Regions from separate parts of the Homo sapiens genome. Here all the other regions are linked to region 1. Evidence: promoter capture Hi-C in human tissues and cell types (Jung and others, 2019). All regions are on one chromosome and are shown on one strand. Each heading gives the region's core, a stretch centred on a gene start or on the middle of the fragment in contact. The rest is flanking DNA. Distances are from core to core; before and after follow the strand shown. Region 1 holds the start of TOMM7 (translocase of outer mitochondrial membrane 7). Region 2 has its middle 13 kb from the start of STEAP1B-AS1. Region 3 has its middle 79 kb from the start of IL6. Region 4 overlaps HYCC1 (hyccin PI4KA lipid kinase complex subunit 1). Region 5 overlaps HYCC1 (hyccin PI4KA lipid kinase complex subunit 1).

Region 1 (2,609 bases), core at 38-2,537:
CCCAGGAACTGAGGCAGTACAAGACAGCTTCCACTCCCTGTGATTTCATCTCTGACCCAACCAATCAGCACTTCCGACTTACTGGCTGTCTCCCCACGCACCAAATTGTCCTTAAAAACTCTGATCCCCGAATGCTATGGGATACTGATTTGAGTAATAATAAAACTCTGGTCTCCTGCACAGCCAGCTCTGCGTGAATTACTCTTTATTGTAATTCCCCAGTGTTGATCAATCGGCTCTGTCCAGGCAGCGGGCAAAGTGAACCCTTTGGGAGCTTACAGCAAGTGACCCAATCACAGCTCACTGCAGCATCAAACTCAAGTGGTCCTCCCGCCTCAGCCTCCCAAATAGCCAGAATTACAGGCGCAAGCCACAGAGGTCAGCAAGGGGAAATTTTTAGGAGCACAGACATTGGGCACAGAAAACGACTACGTACCTTCAGAATGAGGCAGGAAAGTCTTAAAAGTCAAAGTCTTAGAAATGTCTTACAGCCTTAAAAATCAATTAAGTCTTAGACCTGGGGGGGTCAAATCTCAAATACGACAGCAGCCAGAAATTTATTACATCAGAGGTTGGGAATCACTTGGGAAACTTCAAAGGCAGATCAATGGCCAGTTCCCAGCCCCAAACTCTTTAGAATTTCTAGGAGTAGGTCTCCAGCGTGAGTATGGTTTTACCTCTCCTAAAGTGATTCTAATGTGCAGCCAGGGTTGAGAACCACTGCCATTCTAAACCAATGAGGGCAAGATGGCCAAACAGAAGTGTCATTTCCTATTTAGTCTCCTTGATTGTTGCAATGGAATTCCTCAGCTTCAAAAGTCCAGAATTTCATGTGAGATTTCCAAATTCTAAAATGTTGGCAAGTAATTAAAAGAAATTTTTTTAAAAAAGATTGGGATCAAAGAAAACATGGATTCGGGCCCTACTGAGTGTCACTTCGTAACCTTTTTGCAGTTCAACCTCAGGTTTGAACAACCTGATTCTGAGAAGTTAAATAATTTGTCCACGGTTACACAGCCAGTAGGAATAAGAGTTAGGACTAAAACCCAGTCCCTCTGAATTTAATTAATGTTCCTTCCATGAGAAGGAAGGAACACCTGAAGATGCGTTTTAAAAATGGGTAACAGAAACGCGAAGTTACCGCCAGCCATGATCGCAACCACGCATGCGCCTACTACTGCCGGCGAGGCGGAAGAGCAGGGAAGGTTAAAGGCGATGAATTACGACCTCTGCTGGCGACGCTCACGACTCCTGCCGTAAAGGCCGTGTGTGGCGCCTGCGCACCTCCTTTCCCTTTCGGATTCCCGACGCTGTGGTTGCTGTAAGGGGTCCTCCCTGCGCCACACGGCCGTCGCCATGGTGAAGCTGAGCAAAGAGGCCAAGCAGAGACTACAGCAGCTCTTCAAGGGGAGCCAGTTTGCCATTCGCTGGGGCTTTATCCCTCTTGTGATTTACCTGGGTCAGTGGGAGAAGAACCGGGAAAGTGACTGGAGGGAAGAGGGTGGCGGAGACAGCAGCCCCATTTTTGGCCGTCGGGGGAGGGAGAGAAAAATAGGGGACACTGCCGTGCACGGCCCCTGAGGCTGTCTGGTCAAGTGGGGCCGATCTAACCTGAGTTCGAGTTCCCGTTCTATCGCTTTATAGTTGCATGGTCTTTAAGCAGTCTTGCAATCCCTCCTTTTCTATTTTTGCATCCTTAAAGTGGAGGTCATATTTCTCGGGATTGTAGGGAGGGTTGGATGACCCCAGTGGATGTGAAAGTCACTAATTCACTCTCTAGCACTAGGTGGTTCTCGGGGTGTTTTTCCTCACCGCTCCATGTGGTCCTAAGTGGAAAGAGTCCTGTTCAGGGAATCGAGACACCTCGTGAAAGTACCACTGCCATGAAAGCATGATTATAATAATAGTCGTTGGATGCCTCTGCTTTCTTACCTGTACGATGAAGGGTTTGGATGATTTCTATTACTGCCCCCATTTTACAGGTGAGGAAACAGCCGTAGAGAAACTTTTTTGCCAAGGTCGCACAGCTATGCTGACTGAGGGAGTTAGGGGCTCAGGCAGTGGGGCATCAGAGCCCATAGTCTTAACCATTATAGCGCACTTAAAGGATTTGGGGTTTTTTTGGTTTTTGTTTTTAAGACAGAGTCTCGCTCTGTCACCCAGACTGGAGTGCAGTGGCGCTATCCCGGCTCATTGCAACCTTCCCCTCCTGTGCTCTAGCGATCCTTCCACCTCAGTCTCCCAAGTAGCTGGGACTACAGGCTGGTGCCAACAGGCTCGGTCACTTACTGCAAGGATTTGTTAATATTTTTCAGTTAGGGTTGCAGACTGGGACCTATTCTGTAGTTTTTTCTTTTCTTTTCTGTCTTTTTTTTTCCTTTTTTCCTTTTTGAGACAGTCGCTGTGTGCCCAGGCTGGAGTGTAGTGGCGCGATCTCTGCCCACCGCAATCTCTGCCTCTCGGGATCAAGCGATCCTTCCCCCTTAGCCTCCCGAGTAGCTGTGATTACAGACTTGCAGCCACCGCTCGCGGCTAATGTTTATATTTTTAGTAGAGACGGGGTTTTGCTTATGTGGGCCAGGCTGGCCTCAAACTCCTGGCCTCAAGTT
Region 2 (2,609 bases), core at 53-2,552, 250 kb after region 1:
AAAGCTATTTCGGTAGCCAAGTGTGGAAAGTGAACATTAACCAAATAAAACCATGGGGTCATAAAGCTAGGAATGTGCAGGAATTCATGAGTCTGGTTTTCCTCAGCATATTTGCTCTTTCCGAAGAAATTTTCCTCTATTGCTCCATGAAATATGAGTGTGTGTTTACATTTTAAAATAAACCACATTATATCATGAGGTCCTGTTATTCCTAATCCACAGCTCAATCCATGTATGTAATCCAATAACTATAATAACTTTAACATTTCTTTAAAAGTAAACACAGGACCTTTTCCTCTGTGTTTGCCCAATCTTCTTTATGGGACACTAAAATTGAGAACCGAATATCTTCTTTAGCCTTTGACTGACACATGAGGCCTTCTCTGGAGGTAAGCTGGGGTTATAAAACCTTCCATGAGTGAGAGGCCGAATCCATCAGTCATCTCAGAAAACCTCACGGCCAGTTCTACTCCATATGAAATCTGTCTGGGCATCAATCTACTGATGGATGCAATGAAGATGTGGCTCAACACTATTCTTACTGTGATTCAGTGGAGTTTCGTACTCGGCATTGGATGGCTGCATAACATCCAGGAGAGACATAAACATAAGAAGAAAACTTAGGAATGGAATCATTATCAAGAAAAAACAAACCACAAAGGAAAGGTGAGTGTGTACTGGAAAAGTTCAGCCTGACAGATACTGCCCTAGATTCAGTGATTTGCCAGGAGGCAGAAAGAAATGTATCCTTTCCTATCAAGTGTTAAAAGCACAATATCATTTTGTCATTGTTGCAAAAACACAATGACACTCAGCAAGAAACCCCTTTTCTGAAGCTCCTGGGATTTTCCCTGGACCCTGTCAGCAGCCCTGGAGGAAACAATGCCAGATATTATAGGCCATGCTTTACAAATTCTCACTTGAAGCTTGGAGATCACTATTAGTTTTTCTTCAAATACATCTAGAAAAAGTAGGTTTCTTTCAAGCAAAGGAAGTAGGGAAATTCACACCAAATCAAAGACTCAGGGTTGAGTTTTCTGGGGCATGACCCTTCTGTCTTTTTTTTTTTTTTTTTTTTTTTTGATGGAGTCTTGCTCTGTCTCCCAGGCTGCAGTGCAGTGGCACGATCTTGGCTCACTGCAACCTCCATCTCCTTGGTTCAAGCGATTCTCCTGCCTCAGCTTCCCGAGTAGCTGGGATTACAGGCACTTGCCACCATGCCTGGCTAATTTTTTGTATCTTCAGTAGAGATGGGGTTTCACCATGTTGGCCAGGCTGGTCTCAAACTTTGGACCTCAGGTGATCCACCTGCCTTGGCCTCCCAAAGTGCCGGGATTACAGGTGTGAGCCACTGCACCCGGCCAACCTTCTGTCTTGACAGGAATAGGTTAAGGTAGCTTTGGGGGTAGGAGTGAGAGGTGTCCTTGTGATCTCTCAACAGTCCCCAACCTTTCCCCTCATAGTACCTGAGTGTTTTCCCTTCTCTTTGTGACACTCCACTGAAGGACCACCAATGAAGACTACTACTAAAGATGCAAATATCCCTGGAAAAGGAGATGGAGTGACAGGAACACTGATCCTACACCAGGGCTGAGCACAGAGGATAGAGACAAAGCAGGACCCAGGAAATGTGTATTGCAAGTTTGAAGGTTGAGCCTTTATAGAACAGTGATCTTGCTGGAACACTCAGGTGAGGAATGAGAGTAGATAGCGAGGCTGAGAAGGACAGCTGAGATGGGGTGGGGAGGGGGTGGGGAATGTCGTCAGGGGAATCAAAGATCTGAGTGAGATAGGACAAGCACAGGGAAAAGCAGCAGGCATTCAAGGAGAGGACCTTTATAGGTTGCAAAAGGTGCCCAAGGTTGTTGGAAAGGGAGCTTACAAAGGTGAATGTGGTGAATCTCTACCTGCAGGAGGAGATGAAGGGGTGCTTCTCTGTTCCCAGGGTCTGAGATTAGGCTGGAACCACTGGCCAGAAACTTAGTTTCATGGCAGGCTTCTTCAGCCTTTCTGGCATCTGCGGACTAATCACACCAAACTCGGTCACCCTGTTCATTAGGTAGTATGTCATATCCTGCAAACCACTAGATTATAAACCCAATTTGTGGTCTGCTTTCGGGGTGAGACTGTCGCTATCTCAGGTCAGATTTTTAAGGGTCAGTCTTATGGCTGCACCTAGAGCTTTGTCAGAGTCAAGCCCTCTGGGTTAGTTTAGGGAGCCACAGTTTGGTACCCAGAGTTGGGCTTGAAACAGTTGAGCAACAAGTCACTTTTCTTTATCTTCCTGTGCATTTTCAGCAGTCATCATGATTCATATGACATAGTTCCTCGAAAGACCAAGAAAAAGTCACACAATACTTCCTATTTCCTATGGTGCAGGGATACATATTTTCTTTCTTTTTGAAAAACGCTGTCGCTGTGTCGACCAAGCTGGAATGCAGTGGTGCAATTACAGCTCACTTCAGCCTTGACCTCCTGGGCTCAAGGGATCCTCCCACCTCAGCCTCCTGAGTAGCTGGGACTACAGACACATTGCCACCACACTTGACTAATTTATTTACTGTAGAGATGAGGCGGGAGAGGGGTCTCACTATGTTGCCCAGGCTGGT
Region 3 (2,609 bases), core at 64-2,563, 180 kb after region 1:
TTCTACTTCCATTTCATAGCTATGTCACTGGGAAATTATGACTTTCAGGGTTGCTAAAGGAGAGAAGAAAAAAATATAGGGAATCCATATCCATTCTTACATTCTTCAGACTTGAAGTACACATATCACTGCTATTCACAGCACATCGACCAAAACTGTTGAATGGCCCCGACCAACTGTGGGAGGGGCTAGGAAATGTGAGAAGTGTGTTGGCAGCCAGTGAGCCATAAATGTCTCTGATACAGTGAGTATCCACCATATTTTATCTACATACTGTCCAAGTGGTGGACATACAACCCCCAGCTGACACAAACAATGCTGCAGTGAGTATCTTTGGCCTAGAATCTCATGAACCTAAGTGAGAATCTTTTTGGAAAGTTGTAGTAGGTTAAATGGTTCTCAGAAAGATAGGTTCACATCCCAACCCCTAGAACCTGTGAATGTGACCTTACTGGGAGAAAGCATCTTTGAAAATGTAATTAAGGATCTTGAAAAGAGATCACCCTGGGTTATCCAGGTAGGTCCCAAATCTAATGACAAATGTCCTTCTAAGAGACAGAAGAGAAAACGAAAAAAGAAGGCAGAGGCAGAAAGTGGAGTGGTGCAGTCATAGTCAAGGAGCACCTTGAGCTGCCAGAAGCCAGAAGAGATAAGGAATAATTCTCCCATAGGGCCTTCAGAGGGAATGCAAATTTTATTTCAGATTTCTGGCCTCCAGAACTGTGAGAGAATGAATTTCTATTTTTTAAGACACCAATTTTGTGGCACTTTATTAAGGTAGCCCTAGGAAATGAATACATAGTTTGGTGACTAGAAATGAGGTGCTACTGTAACAAATACCTAAAACTGTGGAAGTGACTGTGGAATTAGGTAATGTGCAATTACCCAAAGCTGGAAGAATTTTGAGGCAGAGGATAGAAAACTTCTGGATTCTGGTAAGGGCTCAGAAGGAAGTAGGGTACATGGTAGACAAAGCTTCTATTGTCTAAGAGAATACAAATATTGCTGTAAACAGAATGTTGCTAGAAGGAAATGAAGAATGTGTTACTGAAAGCTGAAGGAAAGGTCATCTTTTATATACGGGCAGAAAAGTTGGCTGAATCATGTTTTCTTTGTTGTATGGAAAGCCTAATTTGTAAGCAATAGCTTGAATATTTCTGAGTAGAAATAAAAGCAGACTTCCGAGAAAAGTATTAAAGATGCAGGCTGGTTTTTCCTTGCTGCCTATAGTCAAATAAATACAAGCAAAAAGATAAGATAAGAAAGGAACTGTTAGATAAAAATGAACAAGCACTTTTATTTTGGAAGTTATCAGTCTACCCAGATTGCAAAGGATGCTAAAGTTAGGAAATTCTGTTAGGAAGCGTGTTCTAGAGAGAAGATCAAGGATGTGGCTGGACAACCTTTTGCTGAAGAGATAAAGCATGACTCATGGATACACTCAACCACCTCACCAGAAGCCAAAAATAGAAATGAGTTACTCATGGGAAATCTGTGGAGAACCCTTTTGTCTAATGGCATGAATCCCTGGACCCCCACAGGAGAACCACAAGGGTTTTGAGAATGTTGTATCTGCAGACTGCCAGCTTGAACTTTTAAAAGGATAGAAGCAGGATGAAATGTGAGAACACTATCAGACTTCCAAACTTCTACAGACAGAAAGTGGGCCAGTAGAGCTAGTCAGCTGTAAATATTTGCTACCATTTAAGAAAATGAAAGAATGATCCTGAGGCCACTGTAGGTCCAAAGGATAGACCACTGTGGACTCAGAGGATAGGGCTACCACAAACCCAAAAGGCAGAACGGCCATGGGCCCCAAGGGTGTGTTGAGTGACAGAGGATTATTCTCAAGGCTTGAGACCTAATGAAATTTGCCCTGCTCAGTTTTGACTCCTTTGGGATTGGTGACCTCTTTATTCCTTCCATTTAATATTTTTTGGAATGGAAATGTCTATCCTATGCCTAGCCCACCTTTGTATTTTAGATACTTGTATTTAGATAACTTGTTTCCTAGTTTCATAGGTCCAGAGATGGAGAGGAATTTTGCCCAGGATAGACCATACAGATTTCAGCAACACCTGATTTAGATGATGCAATTTGTAACTTTTTGAGTTGGTGATGTTTAGATTAGATTTGGAACTTAAAGTTGATGCTGGAATGGGTTAAAACTTTTGGAAATGTTGGCCTGGGGCCATGCTGCTGCTGTGCCCTGCCTTCTGTGGCCCAAGCCACCACTGCACTTCATCCTCTCACCAGAGCCCATGCCACTGGGGAACACCCCAGAGTTTTCTGGGGCCCATCTCTGCTGCTGCTCTGAATACTCATACCCCAGAACCCAGTGCTGCTGCAACTGCCTGCAGGCCATACCAGACCTGGCACCAAGAAGGATCCCCTCGGTTAGGACTTCTTTCCCTAGAGGAAAAAGAGCTAACAGGGAGATCCCAGAAGTCTTTGCCGCCAAGGATCCCAACAGCCTTTGCTGCTGCTGCCATAACTTCAGATATCTGTAGCCTTGGCTGTCTAGGACTCCTAGAGTTGTCCCCAGTGCTGACCTCAATGATAGAGCTGCATGAAGAGTACACCACAGCACACTCTCTGAAACCAGAGCT
Region 4 (2,609 bases), core at 54-2,553, 150 kb before region 1:
TCAGGTCTTTTTCAAAAAAATGTTTTAGACTATTTAAATTTAGTTTGTAAATTTGTGTGTAAGAAAGTATGTATTTTAATATATTTTCTTTCACTTCTATAGGAAATAGTTGACAAACAGGGACATACCAAAGTATTGAGTTTTACGATTCCATCTTTATCCAAACCATCTGTATACCATGAAGTAAGTGACATTTTATCACAGTAAGTTTATTGACCCTAAGCTTTGATATTGCCACAAGTTATAATCTAGTTATTTAGGAAAAAAATTGATCAATTTATTAGTACCTGCAAAAGTATAAACACCCACAAAGTATTTACTATTTCCAAATTGAGATAAGAAATCAAAATAAATGAACATCAAACTAAAATGTGCTAATAAGAGATCTATTGAAAGTATTCTTTTTGAAATATTTTTCCCTCTTCCTGATGGATGGCTACTTGTGTGTGTTGGCCGGCGGGCAGGGGGGTGGTGGGTGGGCAATTGTGTATTTCCATGGTAGAATTTGTGAAATTAAACTAATTTTTATTTCTCATTTGTGGTTTGTTTTAAAATTAGTTATTAAATCTTCGAGCAGAAAATTTGGTAGGCAGCCTAAATATGTTTAAGATATATGATGTTCGTGGTAGCTATTTTAGTGGTATATATATATTCTATATATCACCTTTTCAGCAGAATAGCTTTTTTTTTCTTTATTCAAATGTCTTTTCTCTAGCCTTCCAGCATTGGGTCCATGGCTCTGACTGAGAGTGCACTATCCCAGCATGGTTTGTCAAAAGTGGTATACAGTGGACCTCATCCTCAAAGGGAGATGCTGACAGCACAGAATCGGTATACTGTGGGGATAAAAATTCTTATCTTAATCCACTAATTTTTTAAGAAAATTATTTCAGTAGACTTATAAATAATGTTTAATGAGTTGTGTGTGACAATTTATTTGAATACTGAGTCATTTTATACAAGAGAAAAACAGATCTAGATTTGTCACTGTGCTTTGCTTCAGGTGTCAGCTGGAACACTGAATTTTAAAGACAGGTTTCATATGGCTGTTACTTGGAAAGTCTTTTTTTCCTTGTAGTTTTTCATTATTGGTGTGCTTATACTGTGCAGGTCTGTTCTGTAACATTGTATCTCTCCCCAAGGAGTGCTCTCTCCCCTATTATAGTTGACTTCTTAGAATTCTAAAGATTTGTTAATATTCTTTTTGTTTGTCTTTAGGTTTGAAGTGTTGACATTCCTTTTGTTGTGTTACAATGCTGCCTTAACTTACATGCCCAGTGTTTCTCTTCAGTCACTGTGTCAAATTTGTTCAAGGTAAAGTAAAATTCAAGTGCTTCTAATATTGAAATATATGAATCTATGATTGCTAGTCTGGTACATACCTAAGTTATTTTTGTTTTGTGTAATCATTTGTTTAAAACATTAAATAAGTTAATGTAAAGCTCAGCCTACCCAACACATGGAAAGTTCCCTATAATTGATAGTCACAAAAAACATGATAAAGGGCCGGATGCGATAGCTCATGTCTGTAATTTCAGCACTTTGAGAACCTGAGGTGGGAGTATTGCGTGAACCCAGGAGTTCAAAACCAGCCTGGGCAACATAGCAAGACCCCTGTCTCTATAACAAATTTTAAAAAATCAGCTGGGCATGGTGGTGCACGCCTGTAGTCCCAGCTACCTGGGAGGCTGAGGTGGGAGGATCACTTGAGCCCGGGAGGTTGAGGCTACAGTGAGCTATGATTGCACCACTGCACTCCAGTCTGGGCGATAGAGCAGGACCCTGTCTCAAAAACAAAGAACACAAACAAAAACAACAAAAACAAGAACATCATGAAGAATGTAAAGCTGAATAACGTTTAAATTGACTATTTAATCAGAAAAGGATTATAGTATATAGCTAAATGATAGAGCTGTTATGACCTTTCAAGTTTTGGCATGTGGTTGGCTTCTTTTTGTTTGCATTTATTTATTTATTTTTACTGTGCTCTAATTTGGAACTAAGAAATAAGTAAGAGATACTGGTTCTTAAACTTTTCTTGTTAAAAATAAATTGAGCCAAGGGGTTATAAAATAAATTATATCCTTGAGTATAGTATATTCACATTTTAAAAATCCTGATTTAAAAGAGTAGTTAATGATAGTATGTATGGTATGATTTCCTGATTGGTTGAATATGACCAGAATATTAACAATGATTATCTCTAGTTGGTGGAATTGTGGTTTATTTTAATTTTCTCCTTTGTGATTTTTTTTGTGATTTTCTAAATTTTTGGTAATGTGAATGTTACTTTTTTTAAAAAGGAGAAACAAAACAAACAAAAATGACAGATTATTCCCCTCGATAATTCAAGTAAATAAGAGATATTATAGAACTAAGGAACATGTGGAATAATTTCTATTTGAGGAATTTATTTAGAAAATGCAACTTATCCTGAGTGTATTAGTCCATTTTCATACTGCTATGAAGAAATACCCGAGACTGGGTAATTTATAAAGGAAAAGATGTTTAGTGGACTCACAGTTCCACATGGCTGGGGAGCCTCACAATCATGGTGGAAAGTAAAGGAGGAACAAAGGCACGTCTTACATGGCAGCAGGCAAGAAAGC
Region 5 (2,609 bases), core at 75-2,574, 140 kb before region 1:
ACCATGCCCAGCTAATTTTTTGTATTTTTAGTAGAGACAGGATTTATTCATGTTGGTCAGGCTGATCTCAAACTCCCGACCTCAGGTGATCAGGCCCCCTCGGCCTCCCAAAGTGCTGGGATTACAGGCGTGAGCCACTGCACCTGGCCAAAATAAAAATTTTTATTAGACTGACTTCCTAGACACCTAACTGTCTTTTTAACTTATGAGAATTGTTCTCCTTAACATACTTTAGCTGCATTTATTAATTAACATTAGGCATTTGGAAATCTAATTGAATATTTTGAAATTTTTAACTTTATCATTTACATATTTTTTTAACCATGAATTTCCCTCTTAGCCTCCTATTCTTATCTTAGAGGATTTCTGTATCATCTTATAAAATGCTTGGGAAGAGCCTCTTTGTATAAGCCTGTTTAGCATCATGTTTTATCGAAGGGTTAGATAATATATCTGCTCTATCTGCTCATGTTGATCTTAAACTATATTTTTTCTCCTTAGGTTGCTAATGCAATAAAGGCTTCATTGCCTCATGGTCCCATGAAATCTAATAAGGAAGGTACAAGGTGTATTCAAGTTGAAATCACACCAACTTCCTCTCGAATATCAAGAAATGCAGTAACCAGCATGTCAATAAGGGGTCATAGGTGGAAAAGACATGGTAAGAAATACGTAACTCTTCAAGTCAAACCATTGTTGATTCTTTTACATTTTTCACTGTACTTATGGTGCTATAACTTCTAACTTCAGTAAATAGTAATCTGGAAGAAAGAGCTGTGGAGTTGCCCTTAACTCCTAATTTATTATCTAGGAGCAATAGGCAGTAAGAAAAATGGAGCCCCTTATGTTACACATATGAATGAAAATGTATTTAAAAATCATATTCAATTTGAAATTGTTACTTCAGTAGGAGAATAAGGAAAATGCATTTTAAAATTACTCATACATTTTGGGCTTGTATTCAAAAGTATTTGCAAATGTTCCTTAATTAATATTTCTGATTTCTCAGTGAACTCTTAAGCAAGTGAATTTACATATTGAAGTAGAACAACTAATAGGGACTTTAAACACTTTGTCTGCACTTTCTGGTAAAGAATGCCATAGTGTTGACGCAACACTAGTTGTATTTTCTTGAAGTTAATTTTCTTTCAAGATTCTGTGTATGTGTGTGTGTATATATATATCCCTTCTTGTCTGCTTCATTTTATTATTTTAAAATTTTATTGGAAGTCATTTTCATTCACTATGGCTTTTTCAGTGCTTTCCCATTTCCCTCCCTTGTCTTTTAATTTATTGTTCTTTATTTAATTTCATATTATTTTTATAACTTCCCTCCTACCTAGAAGTTATTGTAGTGTCAACAACCAGTCTAAGAAGGAAATTATCACCTTCCTCAGAAGGTAACCATGGTGGGAAGCAAAAAGCTACTTCTTTACCCTAAGCAAACGTGTATATTAGAGGTAAAACAAAATCCATTCTCTATTTTCTTCTTCCTGTAAACTGAGGTGAAAATAATAGTTCCTTTTGGTATATTTGGTACTGGTTGTGTTGTGGTTTCTATAGAGAAAATGGGAAAGGAGAAGAATGGAGCTATTTATGGTAAACTAGAAAGTTGGTGATGAGAACAGTTGCCATTGTTTTCACTTAAGGAATCTAGGTGATTGTATGTCAGAAAACAATAATGATTATCCAGCTTACCTAGTGATCATTTTTGGTGTTTTTAAAGTGTAGCAATTCTTGAAAGTTCCATAGGAAAGTATAAAAGAGGCGGTGATGTTTGCCAATAGCAAGGCAAATTATACCACCATTTAAAACATATAGTCTAAACATACTTCAGCTTCTTCAGTGAAAATTATGCTACTGAATGGGGCTAGATTACAGGTAGAAAGTAATTTAATTAGATATGGTTTACCCTGAGGTTGGTTTTTCTGTTTTGGCATTAATGTGTGAGAACAGGCACGGAGGCAATGAAGCAGATCATAGTGGTTACTGTGGCCATAATTGCTTCTAAGCTACTGCTACAGGAAGCACAAGAATGAATTTTAATTTCTTTTCCACTTTCCTTCTTGCTATTTAGGTAGACATATTGGGAATTTGGGAGAGAAATGTAGGTCCTGCAGTTAAAAATGTGAAATATTGATGCTCCCTTGTATTTGTGCATATGTGTGTATATGAGAGAGAGTATGTGTGCATGTCCAGGCGTACATTTAAACAAGGAGGTCTGTACCCTGCAACAAAATGGAAGCCATTTCCCAGACATATTTTATAGGAAAAAAATTACAAAACAAGAGAAAAGACTGCTTGAATGTATTGTTTCTAGCAGATTCTTACATATCTTCCAGATTGTATTTTGGCTGCCACTTGAGGGGTTAGCACTCTGTCTTAGGATTGTACCCTCATTAAAGTAGCATTCTTATCACCTGTACCCCTTCACAATTCTAACACTTGGGAAACTCTGTTTATTATAACAATAAAGTCACAGATGAGAATATAGAAGTGAATGAACTATAAAAAGTAAGTCACATGCATGGAACAGGTACAGAATACAGCTTAGCCTTGTTTATCACTCTTCTTTAGTGTGAATTCCCTTTATCCAGTGGACTCTAAAA

Evidence for each region. Contacts are between HindIII fragments. The study calls those that stand out against the background at their distance.
Region 2: a fragment that was not itself captured here is called in contact with the fragment with the promoter of TOMM7 in region 1 in 2 of the 25 tissues and cell types used here (IMR-90 fibroblasts and heart left ventricle).
Region 3: a fragment that was not itself captured here is called in contact with the fragment with the promoter of TOMM7 in region 1 in 1 of the 25 tissues and cell types used here (neural progenitor cells).
Region 4: a fragment that was not itself captured here is called in contact with the fragment with the promoter of TOMM7 in region 1 in 3 of the 25 tissues and cell types used here (IMR-90 fibroblasts, lymphoblastoid cells and small bowel).
Region 5: a contact is called between a fragment that was not itself captured here and the fragment with the promoter of TOMM7 in region 1, in 1 of the 25 tissues and cell types used here (hippocampus).

What each region holds. Positions count from the first base shown.
Region 1 is chr7:22,821,527-22,824,135 of GRCh38, reverse strand. TOMM7 (translocase of outer mitochondrial membrane 7) reads left to right here and starts at 1,287. Exons shown (of 3, transcript NM_019059.5): 1 at 1,287-1,459. The coding sequence starts at 1,357. LOC112267993 (a long non-coding RNA gene) reads right to left here and starts at 1,179. Exons shown (of 3, transcript XR_002956543.2): 1 at 437-1,179. RefSeq lists enhancers at 1,057-1,266, 1,297-1,376, 1,046-1,806. The HindIII fragment of the contact is 34,135 bases long and covers 1-2,609 here.
Region 2 is chr7:22,575,061-22,577,669 of GRCh38, reverse strand. No RefSeq gene overlaps it. Among named protein-coding and RNA genes, the nearest start is that of STEAP1B-AS1, 13 kb to the right of the region's middle. The HindIII fragment of the contact is 5,052 bases long and covers 1-2,609 here.
Region 3 is chr7:22,646,462-22,649,070 of GRCh38, reverse strand. No RefSeq gene overlaps it. Among named protein-coding and RNA genes, the nearest start is that of IL6, 79 kb to the left of the region's middle. The HindIII fragment of the contact is 7,254 bases long and covers 1-2,609 here.
Region 4 is chr7:22,974,915-22,977,523 of GRCh38, reverse strand. It overlaps HYCC1 (hyccin PI4KA lipid kinase complex subunit 1), which reads left to right. Exons shown (of 11, transcript NM_032581.4): 5 at 103-183; 6 at 716-831; 7 at 1,219-1,314. Among named protein-coding and RNA genes, the nearest start is that of HYCC1, 38 kb to the left of the region's middle. The HindIII fragment of the contact is 6,927 bases long and covers 1-2,609 here.
Region 5 is chr7:22,958,308-22,960,916 of GRCh38, reverse strand. It overlaps HYCC1 (hyccin PI4KA lipid kinase complex subunit 1), which reads left to right. Exons shown (of 11, transcript NM_032581.4): 10 at 502-661. Among named protein-coding and RNA genes, the nearest start is that of HYCC1, 55 kb to the left of the region's middle. The HindIII fragment of the contact is 9,797 bases long and covers 1-2,609 here.